Regions from separate parts of the Homo sapiens genome. Here all the other regions are linked to region 4. Evidence: promoter capture Hi-C in 16 types of primary human blood cells and fetal thymus (Javierre and others, 2016). All regions are on one chromosome and are shown on one strand. Each heading gives the region's core, a stretch centred on a gene start or on the middle of the fragment in contact. The rest is flanking DNA. Distances are from core to core; before and after follow the strand shown.

What was found. The method cuts DNA at HindIII sites, captures the fragments that hold promoters and counts their contacts. A CHiCAGO score of 5 or more calls a contact.
Region 1: a contact is called between a fragment that was not itself captured here and the fragment with the promoter of LINC02086 in region 4, in 8 of 17 cell types (M2 macrophages, megakaryocytes, M1 macrophages and 5 more). The highest score is 12.2, in M2 macrophages.
Region 2: a fragment that was not itself captured here is called in contact with the fragment with the promoter of LINC02086 in region 4 in 1 of 17 cell types (M2 macrophages); the score reaches 5.6 in M2 macrophages.
Region 3: a fragment that was not itself captured here is called in contact with the fragment with the promoter of LINC02086 in region 4 in 2 of 17 cell types (M2 macrophages and endothelial precursors); the score reaches 6.5 in M2 macrophages.
Region 5: a contact is called between a fragment that was not itself captured here and the fragment with the promoter of LINC02086 in region 4, in 5 of 17 cell types (M2 macrophages, M1 macrophages, erythroblasts and 2 more). The highest score is 7.0, in M2 macrophages.
Region 6: a contact is called between a fragment that was not itself captured here and the fragment with the promoter of LINC02086 in region 4, in 4 of 17 cell types (M2 macrophages, M1 macrophages, erythroblasts and 1 more). The highest score is 9.8, in M2 macrophages.

The regions. Positions count from the first base shown.
Region 1 is chr17:48,258,931-48,261,630 of GRCh38, forward strand. All of the region lies in intron 4 of SKAP1 (src kinase associated phosphoprotein 1), which reads right to left. Among named protein-coding and RNA genes, the nearest start is that of SKAP1-AS2, 34 kb to the right of the region's middle. The HindIII fragment of the contact is 815 bases long and covers 1,018-1,832 here.
Region 2 is chr17:48,298,992-48,301,691 of GRCh38, forward strand. All of the region lies in intron 4 of SKAP1 (src kinase associated phosphoprotein 1), which reads right to left. All of the region lies in intron 1 of SKAP1-AS2 (SKAP1 antisense RNA 2), which reads left to right. Among named protein-coding and RNA genes, the nearest start is that of SKAP1-AS2, 6.0 kb to the left of the region's middle. RefSeq lists an enhancer at 1,105-1,194. The HindIII fragment of the contact is 9,512 bases long and covers 1-2,700 here.
Region 3 is chr17:48,345,908-48,348,607 of GRCh38, forward strand. It overlaps SKAP1 (src kinase associated phosphoprotein 1), which reads right to left. Exons shown (of 13, transcript NM_003726.4): 4 at 1-99. Among named protein-coding and RNA genes, the nearest start is that of SKAP1-AS2, 53 kb to the left of the region's middle. The HindIII fragment of the contact is 3,432 bases long and covers 1-2,700 here.
Region 4 is chr17:48,641,295-48,643,994 of GRCh38, forward strand. It overlaps LINC02086 (long intergenic non-protein coding RNA 2086), which reads left to right and starts at 1,333. Exons shown (of 8, transcript NR_189645.1): 1 at 1,333-2,700. The region is part of intron 1 of LINC03057 (long intergenic non-protein coding RNA 3057); the gene reads right to left. RefSeq lists enhancers at 1-930, 931-1,927. The HindIII fragment of the contact is 12,737 bases long and covers 1-2,700 here.
Region 5 is chr17:48,316,406-48,319,105 of GRCh38, forward strand. All of the region lies in intron 4 of SKAP1 (src kinase associated phosphoprotein 1), which reads right to left. Among named protein-coding and RNA genes, the nearest start is that of SKAP1-AS2, 23 kb to the left of the region's middle. The HindIII fragment of the contact is 4,284 bases long and covers 1-2,700 here.
Region 6 is chr17:48,280,217-48,282,916 of GRCh38, forward strand. All of the region lies in intron 4 of SKAP1 (src kinase associated phosphoprotein 1), which reads right to left. Among named protein-coding and RNA genes, the nearest start is that of SKAP1-AS2, 13 kb to the right of the region's middle. The HindIII fragment of the contact is 3,099 bases long and covers 1-2,700 here.

The DNA of each region.
Region 1 (2,700 bases), core at 175-2,674, 380 kb before region 4:
CCTGTACCTACAATGTGATCCAAATAATTTATCAGATTCAGAATGATTAATACTTTCCAAACTATACTTAAAATTGAGTCTAGTTATATTGTATGAAAATTGAGAAAAATGAGGTAGATGATGTTTGGGTAACAATTAAAATTTTAGGCAGATGCTTGAATGTCCGTAATTTTTTAAAATGGGGGACTCTACAGTACATGCTGCAAAAATGACTCAAGCTAGGATTTTCAGAATAACCTATATTTTAAAAGTGCAGAACAATGTCAAATCTTTAAGCTTTCAAGCAGAGGATTCGCAATAAAATGAAATCATTAGGCAAAGAGTGGTCACTGTTACGATAAGAAGAAAAAATAATTCAAAATTCTCATATCTATTATTATATTAGAATAGTTCACTTTCTTCTCTACATAATAACATTGGGTATTAAAGAGCCATTTATGCATACCTTATTATTATTTATGAAATTACAAATACACACAGTGTCTGATAACTCATCTCTCTGTATTAAATAGGAACATACATTGTTTTTTAAAATGTCTGCCTTTTACAATGTGTTAGGTAACAGCTTTCCATAGCGTAATCATGAATGCATTATATAATGTGCTTTATAAGAAATTATTAAGGATTATGACTATAGCAATGTAATTCGAATATAAATATGAATAAAGCATTTAGGAATGATATTTTCACTTAGACTGTTACCTACATAATTTGCAGCAATACAATTATCATAGAAGAAGACATACATTTACAGAAAAAGCTGTTGCTACGAATGTTAGTAAAAATCCTATAACGTAGGTGTTTTTCTAGCAACTTCACAAAACCCATGCCTTTAAAAACATGAGGAGAATCCACAATGCCACCTACAGTTTTCTTGACAGTAATCTTGCCTTGGCAGGAAAAAAGGTCAGCTTTATTTGAAAAGCCAGGTGCATGTAAATTTCCAAACTGCAAGTAGGTGGCAGTGGAGACATTTCTGGATGGCCCTTCTCAGTTGGAAATGTAAAAGGAGGAGGAAGCTTCCTTAAAAACAAGTTAAAAACATACTAAAATAAATAATTTCCTGAAATGTAACCTTCCAGATCACCATTAAGAGCTAATAAATTATTTGTCTTTAGGGACCAAAATCCCACCAATCTCTTAATGAAGACAACCATAGCATGAAAAGTGAGCAGCATGGATGACAAAATTAGAAAAAAATGAAAAGAGAGAAGTGTTGGACAATTGTTTCCCACAAATCTAAAAGAAATAATTAGGAATTTGATGTGGACAAGAAACTCCGAGGCTAGCAGCATGAAATACATAAATTTAAAACTAGTAACTTAGCATTTTAAGAAGCCATTAAGAAATCTCCTGTTTGAATGTGAATTTAAGAGTAAGGGAGATGAGTTTATTAGGATCTGGTCTTTAATGAAGAATATCAATTGAGTCCATCAAAAAATTGTGTACAAGAGGCTATTAAACAATGTAGACATATTTAAAGTGTGCTCAACTATAAACAAACACTAGAAACATTAGAATAAAACCACCTGAATTGTCTTTCAAGGTTAATGAGTTGGCATTTAGATTCATTCCATTCTCAAGTTTACTTGCAAAGATAAGAAGGGTCATTAAGTTGTATTATCGGTTCAATTTAATTGATTTGACTCGTGGACATCATATTAGAAACTGGAAAATGCCCAAGAATAAACACTGGAGGGGTGTGTGTGTGTATCAATATACATGGAAAGAAACAGGTAAATGTGTTGTAAGATGGAAAAAAAGGAAGTTAATGACATTATTTATATCGGAATCACCACGTGAAAAGAAATCAAGGTAAACGTCCAGATCAAAGCTTTTTCACACCATGACTATCTCGAATCAGCTTTTCTCCTTTCCTTAATTGGTTAACCACACACACACAGTTTAACAACAAAGGCAACCAAGTGGTCAAGGGATGCAAGAAACCTGGTGAAAACAAATGCCACGTTCTTAGTACTACTGTTCCCCTGCCTGGAACATTCTTCTTCTGTTCATCTTTTAAGATTCACCTCAAAATCCAGATACTCTAAAATGCTGTTCGGAATCCCTGATGTGAATTTAATCACTCCCTCTCCTGCAGTATTTAAAAAAACTTCTATTATAGCAATTATCACATTTTAGAATTAGAATTATTATAGTTGTGTTTGGATCTGAACGACCCCTAAGTCTGCAAGTCCTAGGAGGGCAGGGGTCAGTCCTTGACAATTTTTGGAAAATTTCTGATGCCATGCTCTGCAAGGATGTTTATCTGAATTAGTTGAAAGGATGACTTAAAACCATCTCTCAAAATACGCCATGCTTTAATGCTGTGGACAGTAAAGAATCTATGCTTTGGTGAACAACAGAAGAGTGACATGCCTGTGACTCACTCTGAATAGAGCCTTATAAAGCCTTAAAAAGAAATGTGGCACCAACCTTTACCCTCTCCTTATATACGCAGGAATCCTTGGGAGCTACAGGGTTAGTTTGGTTGCTAGGAGTAAGGCCTGAGAATTATTAGTGAACTGGCATCCTGGAAGCAGTAGGGGGCGTTTTACGCTGAGGATGCTATTGGAGGATGTACTCACAGACTGTGTGATGGGCGGTCACCTAGTCATTGTCCTGGTGACCTTTTAAATGTAAGCAGCAGGAAGCATAACTCAGGCCTGGTAGCAGTGATCAGAGTCATGGGGGAACAAA
Region 2 (2,700 bases), core at 70-2,569, 340 kb before region 4:
TGTATGGAGAATATCAGGGACATTGCATAAGGAACATTCGTATTTATAATTTATAAAGCACCTTGGGATTCTCTAGACGAAAAGCACCATATAAATATGAGCATTTTCATTTCATGTGGGTGATCACAGAATGTTGGCATTTCAGCATAAACCATATTTCAGTAGTGAAAGGGATATAAACTCTTATGTAGATTTGGTTTTGCTGCCATTTTCTCTTCCCTGAGTTGTAACATACACAATGGAGCATGCCCTTATTGGCTGCCTCCTTTACCTTTTCTAAAGTTCCTGTCTATTTCGTTTTGTCTTTGTGGTGTCAATGTACTGTCCAGCATTTGGCTTTATACTCATAAGCTAGACTACTGAAGGAAGTAAACATTTATCTTGGATCTATCTGGTATAGTGTTTTCCATCCTTCAGTATTTCTGATGTCTAAGGGAGGAAAACCTCCAGATATCATTGAAGGGGGAAGAGGGGGAGGCTGTCACTCTGTGGCACATTAAGACACAGTATAGAACAGGAGACTACTATTATTTCAAGGTTCTTTGAAAGTTCTTTAGGATATGACAGAATATATATGTATGTGTGTGTGTGTGTGATTTGAAAATCTGGATCATACAATCACATTTTAGGGGATCAATCTGACAAACATTTATTGAATGTCTAATATGTGCTGACAGCCCACAATCCTTTGGAGATGCCAGTGTATGTAATACAATGCAGGTAAATGGTGGTAGGCAACAGCTATGATAACTGATCAAGTAAAATGCAAGACAGGAAGGGGTTGAGTCCAACCTGGGGCAACTAGGAAGCCAGCTAGAGAAGAGGGAGTTTGAGCATGGCCTGGAAGGATGAGTGGGTGGATGGGAGGATGGGAAAGGCACTCCAGGTGGAAGGCACAGGGCTGGGTTTGCGGAATGATGATGAATAATCCTGTGAGGCTGGGGTTTGGGGCATGAGTTTCACATGTAGGAGGTAAGATGAAAGGTAGGCTCAGTATTTCAGGTCATGGTTTCAAATCCTCTTCAAAATAAGTGTAGGTCATGAAGCTGCAGTGTTATGAGAAAACTGTTTTTAACTATGAGTGTTCCTAGCTTATTATTTCCCCTGTGTGCTCAAGAGTTTCTGGCTTCACTAGTTCAGGTCCTTCCCAGGCTCACCATCATCCAAGGAGGGCTCTGCCATTCTCAGTCAAGTGTTTTGGCCTTGTGATGCAGCATGGGGAGAATGTGGAGAATAAGATACTTAGGTTGACAGTAGAAGACAGGGAGCAAAGAAGCAGTCTCCACCCCATATCTTCAAGGATTAAGAGAGACAGGGCAGAATGGCATGGGACTGTGAGAGAGTTCTGGGACAGGAGAGTGAGAGGCTCCAGGGAGTTCTGGGGATTTTGAAAAAGGAGGAGAAGTTGCCTTGTAAAATGGGCTACAGGTATTTTTGAGGACAGAAATTCCTACTTTTGTTGTGCTTCTGTGAATGTGATACTTCTTCAGGACTGGGTCCTGGTGTCAAAGGGATAGACAGCTCAGTGTGAGATTGCATGTGATTTTCCATGGTCTGGAGGCTATATTATATTTATTAACCACATATTATACCAAGAGAGAGTGATGAGGGGTGAGCCTAAAAATGAAGTGGATCAGAATCTTTTAGCATTTTGCTCCTCCATGAATTCTCTATTTAATGATTAATGTTTGTTGAATAGATTGAGATGGTTCTCACTGTATATATTAATTACTGCTTAACAATAATGTGTTTTCTCTTAATCCTGTCACATCTCTTTAATGGCTGCCTTAAACTTCCACTTTCCAGTCTCCCTAAGCTCTAGGCCAGTCCCTGCTCCATGGCTTTTTACTCTTAGTAAATGGCTTTGCCTTCTCCTCCCTTCAAGTAAAAATATCTCCGTATCTTCATTCTCTTCTATCCTTTAACTCCTTTCTCTAAGGAATGAGTCCCCTGCCTGTTAGCCAGGACTGATTCTTGTATAGTATTGACTGACCCATTTCTACCTTTCCAGGACCTGATTCTACCCATTATCTTCTCTTTTAGACTGGTTCTTTCTCATATGCTGGAAAATCAGCTCAGATCTCCCCTCTCCTAAAACTAAAACAAAATAACCAAAAAGCTCCTCTCTCCTCCTACCATTTATCCCTTTCATTCTTTTCACCAAACAACTTTTTTTAGGTAACATATACCCACAGCCTCTAGTTTCTGAGTACTCACTCACTCTAAGATCACTAATAACTAGGCTTGTTTTTAGTAGACTACTGAAACTGCTCCTTGGAAGATGAGCAAAGATCTTCTTGTTTTGTTTCCTCTCTATTCCCACCAACCCTTCCCATCAGCCCAATATCCAACAAATTATAAATTTTCAGGGAGATTCCCAATTACCTATCTTTATATTCCTTCAGCACCTAGCATTATGCATTGCACATGGTAGAGACTCCATGAGTATTTGAATTGAATCTAGATTTCTTTCTTTCTTTCTTTTTTGAGATGGAGTCTCGCTCTGTCACCCAGGCTGGAGTGCAGTGGCGTGATCTCGGCTCACTGCAACCTCCGTCTCCTGGGTTCAAGAATTGCTTGAACCCAGCAATTCTTCTACTTCAGCCTCCCAAGTAGCTGGGATTACAGGCACCCACCACCATGCCCAGCTAATTTTTGCAGTTTTAATAGACATGGGGTTTCACCACATTGGCCAGGGTG
Region 3 (2,700 bases), core at 97-2,596, 300 kb before region 4:
CATCCTGATAATCTGACAAAAAGGGTGCATCGGATGTGAGGGACAGGCCAAGAGTCCCGCTGTGATTATCATCAGAGCTGTCCTGTCCAATGTCTCCCCCTGAGGGACAAAAAAGACAGAAAATAAGGTTAATCTTTGGGCATCCTTATAAAAGGATACATCCTTATAAAAGGATCTATGTATGATCTCTTCCAGTATTCGAAAAAAAAGTGTATCTTTTACTGGATGATGAACATGGCCACTATCCATTAACATATAGGAAACAGTTAAATAGGTTCAAGAACTGACTTACCTGGATGAAAAATTTTCCACTCAAGTAACTCTCTCACTAAAACTTAGGAACTGTTAGCTTATAGTGGGAATACCTCTTGCCACCAGAAAGAAATTTCTCTATCATACTTAAAATAAAAACATAGCTATATAAATTTATATTCAGCCAGGCATGGTGGGTCACGCCTGTAATCCTAGCACTTTGGGAGGCCCAGGCAGGCGGATCACCTGAGGGCAGGAGTTCAAGATCAGCCTGGCCAATATGGTGAAACCCTCTCTCCACTAAAAATACAAAAATTAGCAGGGTGTGGTGGTGGGCGCCTGTAATCCCAGCTACTTGGGAGGCTAGGGCAGGAGAATCGCTTGAACCCGGGGGGTAGAGGTTGCAGTGAGCCAAGATTGCACCATTGCACTCCGGCCTGGGTGACAACAGCGAGACTCCATCTAAAAAAAAAAAGAATTAAATTTATATTCATATATACTATGTCTCCAATAATTACAACCTTTACCCTGCATGCCTCTATTTCAAATGAAATAGGACTGACCCAAAGGTTTAACCTTCTATACATAATATAATATAGCAAGGTCAATAGTCTTTCTCTGAAAAGTAAGAGAAGTATTATAAAAATAGAGAAAACCTAGACTTTGCTGGACTGTATTCCTATTTGTTCTGCAACGTTAACAAAGTTCTTTCTTTGTAATTCTAGTTTACAGCCTAGGCAACCGACCTCTTAGGAATTCTAAAAGCCCTAAGAAGATAATATTTGTCCTGTAAAATGGCTTTGATAAAAGGTAATGTATATACAATACTGAATTATGCAATTAATGCTAATCTCTTTTGTGTGTTTTCAATATACATTGGATTGTATTCTGTAGAAGTGACTGATGTTATTATGATACTTTAAAAGGTTCAGACAGAAGATGTTAGCTCATTCAGAAACCGGAAGAAAAGGCTCTGTATTGCAAATGGCTTTCCTTAAAATCCCCCAAATAGAGGTACAGTCTGCTAATAAAAGGACACTGACAGCTGCTTATTTCATTTCACAAACATGAAAATAGGATTTTCAACTGAATTTAATATTATCTCAAATACTAATTTCCAAAGGAAATCACCAATGCTAATCTCAGTAAATACTGTAGAGTTTTGGCCTTGGATTTCAACTAGGGAGCTGTGAAACCAAACAACCTACATAGAATCTGTATTGCCTCACTTTAAAGGTTTATTTCCTACAATTAAACTAGAAAGCCAGGGAGGTTATAAAATGATAAAAAGAGAATGGCTGTAGCTTTCTCTTTCCATAAATTAGATGATCATATCTAGACTCTTCTTCAAATGCTGTATGGTAGGTAGATGTCCATAACTGAGTTGAACACCTACAAATATAGGACTTTAGAAATAAACTATAAAGTTTATTATGAAAAAGAGAAATAAAAATTGTAGAAAACTCACACAATAGTCATTGGCCAAAGCCAGAAGAAATACTCTCTTTTATTAGTTTACTTATCAGTATACAAAGTTTATAGCTATGCTTAAAGCATCACTGTGTAATTTCCATAGTAACCAGAAAAATTCTCAAATACTGGACTGAGGATTAAAATGCTCAAATTTTACATCACTGGAAGTCCACTAAAATTATATTATCAACACAATCTAAATGGACTGCCTGGCTAGTAACCTGAAAGTGAGCTGCAAGGTTAAATGGAATTTTTATTTTAAGCCAAATAAAAATCCTTAAAAATAAAAAAAGTACTGGAATTGCCAAGCAAAATTTAACTTTTGTAGGATATACTGAACATTATGTATAAACTATTATTCTGGACTTAAAGTTCTCTGCTTGCTTCAAAAATGTGGCAAATCCACCATTAAAGAAAAAGAACCTAGCCAGGCACAGTGGCTCACACCTATAATCCCAGCACTTTGGGAGGCCAAGGCAGGTGGATGGCTTGAGCCTAGGAGTTCAAGACCAGCCTGGGCAACATGACAATACCCCATCTCTACAAAAAGTAGAAAAATTAGCCAGGCATGGTGGCTTGTGCCTGTGGTCCTAGCTACTTGAGAGGCTGAGACATGGGGGGATCGTTTGAGCCAAGGAGGTAAAAGCTGCAGTGAGCCATGACTGTGCCACTGCACTCCAACCTAGACAACAGAGTGAGCCCTGCCTCAAAAAAAAAAAAAAAGAAAAGAAAGAAAAGAAGAAAGAAAAAAAGTACATGCTCACATTCTAAGTGTTTTAAAAAACATGCAGATCAGGAAGGGCTTTTTTTTTTAGTGAACTTTTTATTTTGGAATAATTTTAGATTTATGTAAGTGTTGCAAAGATAGTACAGAGTTCCTACATACCCTTCACCCAGTTTCCCCCAATGTCAACTTCTTACATAATTGAGGTCTATCTGCCAAAACCAATAAATTAACATTGGTATATTGCTATT
Region 4 (2,700 bases), core at 83-2,582:
GGACCTTCCGCCATTTGTCACCTTGTCCAAAGCTATCTCATACCGAAAGAGAATTGAACGTTTCAGGAAACACTTCCCCTTTGCAAATGCCCTTCTCTTGGGGAATGGGTATAGTGTCCAAATCTCCAGCTCCCACCATTTCTAGCCAGCCCTGAGGAATTGTCTGAGACCCGGGAGCCCAGAGATCATCAGCGGGGGCCAACAGCCATGACCTTTGAGTTTTCTTGGCCGCTGGGCCACAGAAAGGGTGCAAGAGGCAGCTGGACAGGTAGACAGAAGTAGGCACAAAGAAAGGGGCCCTGGACGGTTGCCAGAGAAAAGACGGAGAATGACAAAGAGAGAAGTGAAATAGCTGGACTGGAGGCGGGAACTGGAGCGCAGCAGGCAGGTGGAGTGGCCAAAACCCGCGTGCTAAGAAGAGCCCACAGGGGCGGCAGGGGCGGCAGGGGCGGCAGAGGCGGCCAGGCGCGTCTCCGTTCCCCATCTTTACGGGGAGGTTAATGACCTCCTCAGCGCCCCCTCGTCCCAAACCACCCAATTACAACTCCTCAGGCTCCTTAATGATCTGATTAATTGGTTGGTTAGGGCGGATGGAGGTGCTTCTCTGCCGGGGACCTGGCGGGGTTTCGCTAGATCATTTGTTAATTGTGGGAAGGAAGGACGCATCCGGGGAGAGGAGATCCAGGGCTGGAAAAGTGGGTGAGCGGCGCTGGCGCAGGCGGCCAGGAGAGAGCAGATGAACCGTTCGTTAGGAGCAGCGAGGTAGTCGTGAGCGCTGAGATCCAGAGACTAGGACCCACTCCCTCTCTGAGCAGCAAATTGGGAAGAAGATGCTCACTCGGTAAGGGCGAGGGAGCCCGGCATGGCGCCCCACCACGGGCTCGGTCTATCTGCGCGCCAAGATCCCGCTTGGGGCGAGGCGTTGGGTCAGCGTTTAGAGCCACTCCCTGCGCTGGTGGCTGGACATAGCCTCCCTATCCCACCTCATCTTCCCCCATCCCCGACAGAGGAGGTTGTGAATCTACAGGCCCTTGACGTTGAGGCGTCGGAGGGCGCACCTTTGTAATTGCGGCCTCCCTTCGCCCCTTAAGTGCCGCTTCTGGGCGCCTAGGCTGGATATGAAAGCCCCGTTCCTAATCCTCTGCTCTGGTCCCCTCCTCTGGACTGCTGGGACTCTAAGCTAGGCCCTCCCCAGGTTCCATCACTGCGGCGCCAACCCGCGGCTGGGCTGTCCGCAAGAGGGAGTTGAAGGCGCGCGGAATCCCGAGGTGCAGCTGACCCTCCTCTCAACGCCGACTCTGCCGCTCCCGCCCGGCCACCTCCCTGTCGGGCAGACTTCCTGTTCTCCTGCTCACAGCAGGGAGGCAGTCGCCGAGCCGGTCAGCAGCGTGCACGGAGATCTTCACTCTGCGCCCAGCCCCGGGACACAGGTGCAGATCTCCAGCGGAGCACTGCGGAGTGCGCGCCGTCGAGCACTAGGGAATCCTAGACGGAGGACTTGGTCCATTCCACGCAGTCCCAGGCAGGTCCGCAGCGGAGGGACGCAGCGGTCTCCAACTCCTGGTCACGACTTCGGCGACCCTCCACCCCCTGAGAGACCTGGTCCCACGGAGCTGTCCCCCCAGGAGCCGCAGCGGGAATAGCAAAGCAAAGGGGACCACTCAGCCCCCAGGAGGAGCCCTGAAGCAAAAAGGTTGCTGCGGGGAGCCACGTTCCCTCTGGTTCACCTCGAAGCCCAGGAGCTCCGGTCCCTGGACCAAGGAGTGAACAGACCTGAGGAAGAGGTAAGAGGAGGTTTAACGAGTAAAAATTTGGACTCTCTCCTCTTATACTGCTTTAAAGCATGAGGAATTTGGGCCCTGACTTCTCTCTCCTTGAAGAAGTTTCTCGCGTTCTGGCCAGTCCTTGCGTGTCTGCACCCAGGGCCGGCAACAATTTAAGGAGGAACTTTACTGGGTGGTCGAGGCTTGAGAGTTCATAGTTACCTTTTAAAAAAATCATTACTATTACTTAATATCTAGGTTATTTTGGACTGAGCCCCCATCTTCGCTCCAGCCCAAATTCGGCCTTTAACAGTACTAGGGAGTGCTTCAAAAGAGGAGGGTCGTGGAGGAAGCGACTCAGACGGCCCCAAGAGGAGAGATGGGAAGGAGTGAGGGCTTTGGCCTTAATGATCTCTGCAAGTTAAAGGCCATTATTCCTATAACTACAGCTGGGGAAAGGGCAGAGGAGGTAAGGACGGAAAGTGGGCTGAGGGTGGCCACTTTGGCATCTTCTTGAGAAAGGAGACATTTGAATTCCCGGCCCAACTAAAAGCCCTGAGATGCTTGCCCTTTGCTTTACAGACAGTGATGGCAAAGAAATACTGCCACCAGGGTGTTTTTAAAGGTGAAGGTTGACCTGATAAGCACTGAGATCAGACAAAGGAAAAAAAAAGTAAAGCATTTGGTCTTTCAGTTTTCTGGCTAAATCTGGCATCATTTTCCAGACACAAACTTCTCTGATTAATCCAAATAGCTCTCAACCTGAAGTTCAAGGAATTTGAAATCCTCTGAAATTGTGGGATTTCACAGTTCTAAAAGGAAGTCAGCTGTCACTTTCTGAGAAGCCCTGGGAGGGGAAGGAAGCAAGAGGAGGTATATGAGGAAAGGGGGTGAGAGGCCCCAGATCTAGCTCTCTAGACATTTAGTGCTGGACCCC
Region 5 (2,700 bases), core at 123-2,622, 320 kb before region 4:
ATGGCTTGATCTCTCATTTCATTCAGTTTTCTGCTCAGAGGCCTCCTCTGATCACCCTGTTCTCAAAGAGATCTACTGTCACCCTTTTTAGTCATTCTCTCTCTGCCTTTCAGTCTTTTTTGTTGTGTTTAGTTTCAGACCATTTACCATGGCTTGACATTATATAACATATCGGCCCCAGTAAAATATGAGCTCTATGTGGCTAAGGGTTTTGTCAACTTCGTCTCTGTGTCCCCAGTACTAGTCTAAGGTCGTGCACATAGTAGGTCCTCAATGATAAATGAATAGATGAAGAATAGTCAAAGCAATTGGCAGACATTCCACCTAATGTTCATTTGAATATGAACCTCAAAAGAATGTTCACATGACAGAGACCACCACGCTAAGATGAGCTATTGATCAGACTGCTAAAAATCAGCTCTCTCTTTCCCCAACTTGCATAACACTGAAACCATATCTGCCTTATGGTATCTATCACTATTTCTTTTATACCATTCTTATTTCATACAGATCTTATCTCCCCTAGTAGCCTTTGTGGAAAAAAATCCCAATCTGATCCTTCATCTTCTCCCTTATCACATCCAACATGTGGCAGGTATCCAGCCCCTGGATCATGGGCAGGGCTGACAGTCACATCCTGGCCATGACAATCTGAGGCCCAGATGCTCATGCAGGAGCGAAAAGTGCCAGCCTCTCCGAGCCATACTGAATGATGATCCTTGACTCTATGCTCAGACGGATGTTCATGGGCATTCATCTGTTGACAAGGCTGAATGAAGAGAAGGGACTCCCAATGGAAATAAACCTATGAAAAATCACCAATCCCTTGTATGATAATTGAGGAAAAAAAGTATCTCAATGTTGATATAAAAAAGACGAACATAAAATAAAGACTAAACTTAAATGATGATCAGTTGACCTTCATTTCTTTTTTAGGGGTCAATTCCCAAACAGAAGTAGAACTATCACAAACATGGCATTAAACGTTTTAAAAATTGAATTAAATTAAGAAATCAAGTTATGTAATAGGAACAATTTTAAAGATGAAGAAATGAAAGTGCTCAAAGGTTTGGACTAGCAAAGCATAATTCTATACTTAGACCAGTAAGCTGGTCATATAAAATGTTCATAAAAATTTCCTTTTGAAATAAATATACTTGGATATGAATAATTTTCATGTACCAAAAGTTAAATAAAACTTGAAAACAAATGATAATAGGCAAGTTGCTTAACATTTCTACATCTTAGTATCTTTATCTGTAAACAAAAGGAACTGAAGTAACTTCAGGTCACTTCGAGGTCTGAAATAATTCAAATAAGAATCTAGTTGAGTTTTTCAGGATGGATATGTGTTTTATGCTTATCAATGGCTGAAACTAGAACAAATATTAAACTCTCATGAGACATTAAGTTAGAAGGCATCATACAAAAATCAGCAAAAACAGAGAAGCAATCAAAGGGTAGAGGTAGAAACTGAAGTACTTCAAGAATAAAATAAAATGGAGTTAAATCAAGAAAAAAATGCAATCAACAGGTATGAGAGAAAAATAATGCAAAACAGAAGTATCAATAAAATGAAAAGATTTAGAAAGTGTAATACTGTAAAAAGACTTAATGACACCAGAAAAGCGCAAATAAACTTTCATTATGACACATGAACAATACCACTGATTTTTAGATTTCATGTAAAGCACCATAATTCATAAGCCCATAAGCCCCTAGGAAGACATTCATATTTCTACATTCTTTTGCAAGAATTGCCATGTTGAAACAGACCACTGGTCCATCCCTTTTGCCATGCTGCCCTGACAGCAAACAGATGTTTCAGAGAAAAGCTCTACTCTCACCAACCCAAATTCAATAATACACCTAATGGTGCAATACTATATCAAGAACATCATTTCTTTTTGACCTCAGAGGGCAATTATCTTATACCCAAAGCAGGAGGCTGGCTCACTTTGATTTCACGCTGGGTGGCCCACTTAAGAGGTCCCACTTATAATTACATCAAGACTGATATTTTCATTCACTTGGCTTTTCTGACACACTAAGCTACTTACACAATTTGCTGTCATCACCGTCACAATTAGGCTCTCATGTGTTTGGAATAATGTAGGGATAATACAAATGGTTGTATTTGTATTTGTAACTGTCCTTTTAAAAATCTTTGCTTTCTGTGACTGGGCATGGTGGCTCACATCTGTAATTCCAGCACTTTGGGAGGCCACGGCAGGAAGACTGCTTGAGGCCAGGAGTTCAAGACCAGCCTGGGCAACATAGTGAGACTTCATTTCTACAAAAAAAATTAAAAATTAGCCAGGCATGGCATGTGCCTATAGTCCCAGCTAGTCTGGAGGCTGAGGTGGGAGGATCGCTTGGAGCATGGGAGGTTGAGGCTGCAGTGAGTCATGATTGCACCACTGTTTAGCCTGGGCAAGACAGAGCAAGACCTTGCTTCAGGGAAAAACAATATTTGCTTTCTTAAAAATTAATATTTCTATTATTAGCTTCAGTTTATTCAAAGGCTCGAGAATTCCCAACTTAATGTAAATAACCTTCTTGAAGTGGAAACAAAAAGGAGAAATGAACCTTTAAAGAAGTACACATAACAGTAAGAATAACTTTTGAATACATGAGGTTTTGGGCTTTATGAGGATGGTTTTCTGAGAGAGTGAACAAAACAGAAGAAATAGACTGGAA
Region 6 (2,700 bases), core at 160-2,659, 360 kb before region 4:
CAGCATTTTGGGAGGCAGAGGTGGGAGGATTCACCTGAGGTCAGGAGTTTGAGACCAGCATGGTACAACATGGTGAAACGCCGTCTCTACTAAAAATACAAAAATCAGCTGGCTGTGGTGGTGGGCGCCTGTAATTCCAGCTACTTGGGAGGCTGAGGCAGGAGAATCACTTGAACCTGGGAGGCAGAGGTTGCAGTGAGCCGAGATCTGCACTCCAGCCTGGATGACAGGCTGCACTCCAGCCTGGGTGACAGAGTGAGACTCTGTCTCAAAAACAAACAAAAAACAACAACAAAAAATGACACACAAAAAACACAATTCTTTTTAAATGTACAGTTTAATGAATTTTGACAAATATATACATATATATATAGTAGTTGTATAACCACTACCAAATCAAGATATAGAATATTTCCATCACTCTGAAAAGCTCCTTTTTGCCCCTTTGTAGTCAATCCACTCTTTCTATCACTGGCCTTGCCAATCATTGATCTATTTTTGTGTCTATAGCTTTGACTTTTTAGGGATGTCAAATACATGAAATCATATAGTATCTAATATTTTATGTCTGGCTTTCTTTAATTAGCATAAAACCTTTAAGATTCATCCATGTAGTTGTGTGTATCAGTAGTTTATCCCTTTTTATTGCTGAATAGAAACACAATTTGTTTATCTACTCACCAGTTGATGGATACTTGGGTTCTTTTCAGTTTCAGTGAATAAAGCTGTTATAAACACTCAAGGCAGAACCTGTACTCAGACTTAGGCAGTCTAAACCCAGAGCTCAGGTTTTTTTACTTTTTTATTTTTATTTATTTTTTATTTTTTGAGATGGAGTCTTGTTCTGTTGCCAGGCTGGAGTGCAGTGGCGTGATCTTGGCTCACTGCAATCTCTGCCTCCTGAGTTCAAGCGATACCCCTGCCTCAGCCTCCCAAGTAGCTGGGATTACAGGCACATGCCACCATGCCCGGCTAATTTTTTGTATTTTAGTAGAGATGGGTTTTCACCATGTTGGCCAGGATGGTCTTGATCTCCTGACCTCGTGATCCACCCACCTCGGCCTCTCAAAGTGCTAGAATTACAGGCGTGAGTCACTGCACCTGGCCCAGAGCTCAAGTTTTAAAGCACTTCAGTCTACTGGTGCCCAATAAGAAACCATGAAGCTCTTTGTCATTGTCATGGCACTCCCTGATGGGGTTCTTCTCACTGCTCCTAGTGCCTGTGATGCTCTCCAAGTGGAGACTGCCTGATCGCACATCAAATGCTGCTCATTTAGGCTGGCAGGCAGAGGCAGCGTGCTTTCAAATTGTGCTTTAAAGAAAAACCTTTATATTTCCAAACAAATTAAGGGAATTTACTTGTAAGGAAAATCTAATTTAGGTATCTTTAAAAGGAGAGGTTTAGAAAATAAGAAATTAACACTGTGGCCACCATCTAGTGATCCATGGCTTAAGTTTTAACATGGCACTGAAAACTTCTCTTACCCATAAGTGTTGATCTAGTATAATTTATTATCTTTGGAACAGTATAAGTTTATTATAAAATCAATGAGAAAATATATGCCATTAGGCATGCCCTCATACTCATATTGTTTAGAAAAACAATAAAACAAAAACAGACAAAAAATAAATATTAATATTTACTAGTTTATGGACAGGCAAGACAACTTTTTAAAAATCCTAGTTTATCTAATGCATATATTTTTAGTACTGCAGCAATAAGGAAAACCTGAAGAACAACAGCTAAGTGTAACTAAGAGTACATATTCTACAGTTAAAAAAATCACACAAGCATTTACTTGATTCTTCATGCACCGATAAGAATGGTAAAGAAAACAGAAATCCCAAAATAATATAAGTTTGTCTCAGCTAACAATATCATTTGGAAAATTCTTATGTTTACCCAAAGTTGAACTGCACTTAATACTTTCTTTTATGCCTTTCTGTTTCATTTTATTAGATTAAGAAATTATAAAAAGTTTAAACATGTACAAATGTATAGAAAATAATGTAATGAACCTCCTGTAGCTATCATCCAGCTTCAACAATTATCAACTCATGGCCAATTCTGTTTCCTCTATTTTCCTCCATTCATTCCTCACCTCTACCCAAACTAATGCCTTATTTTTTTTAACTTTGTACTTTGAAATAATTTTAAGTTTTCAGAAAAGTTGCAAAAATAGTACAGAGTTCTCATCTATCCTTCACCCTGTTCCCTCAAAGCTAACATATTGCATAACCACAGTATAACTATCAAAACTAAGAAACTGCTTTTGGCTGGGCAAGGTGACTCATGCCTGTAATCTCAGCACTTTGGGAGGCCAAGGCAGGAGGATTGCTTGAGCCCAAGAGTTCAAGACCAGCCTGGGCAACATAGTGGGACCTCAGCTCTACGAAAAAGTAAAAAGTCAGCCAAGCATTGTGGTGTACGCCTGTAGTCTCAGCTACTTAGTAGGCTGAGGTGAGAGGATTGCTTGAGCCTAGGAGGTCAAGGTTGCAGTGAGCCAAGGTCGTCTCGCTGCACTGCTGCTGCCTCAGTGACAGAGCAAGATCTGGTCTCAAAAAAAAAAGAAAGAAAAGAAAAAAAGAAACTGCCCTTTTTTTTTGGTAAGGAAAATTGCACATTTTTGTGCTCCTCTGATAAATGCAAACCCACCCATCTGAGGGAACAATAACTACAAAATGCCATCCACTCTTAGC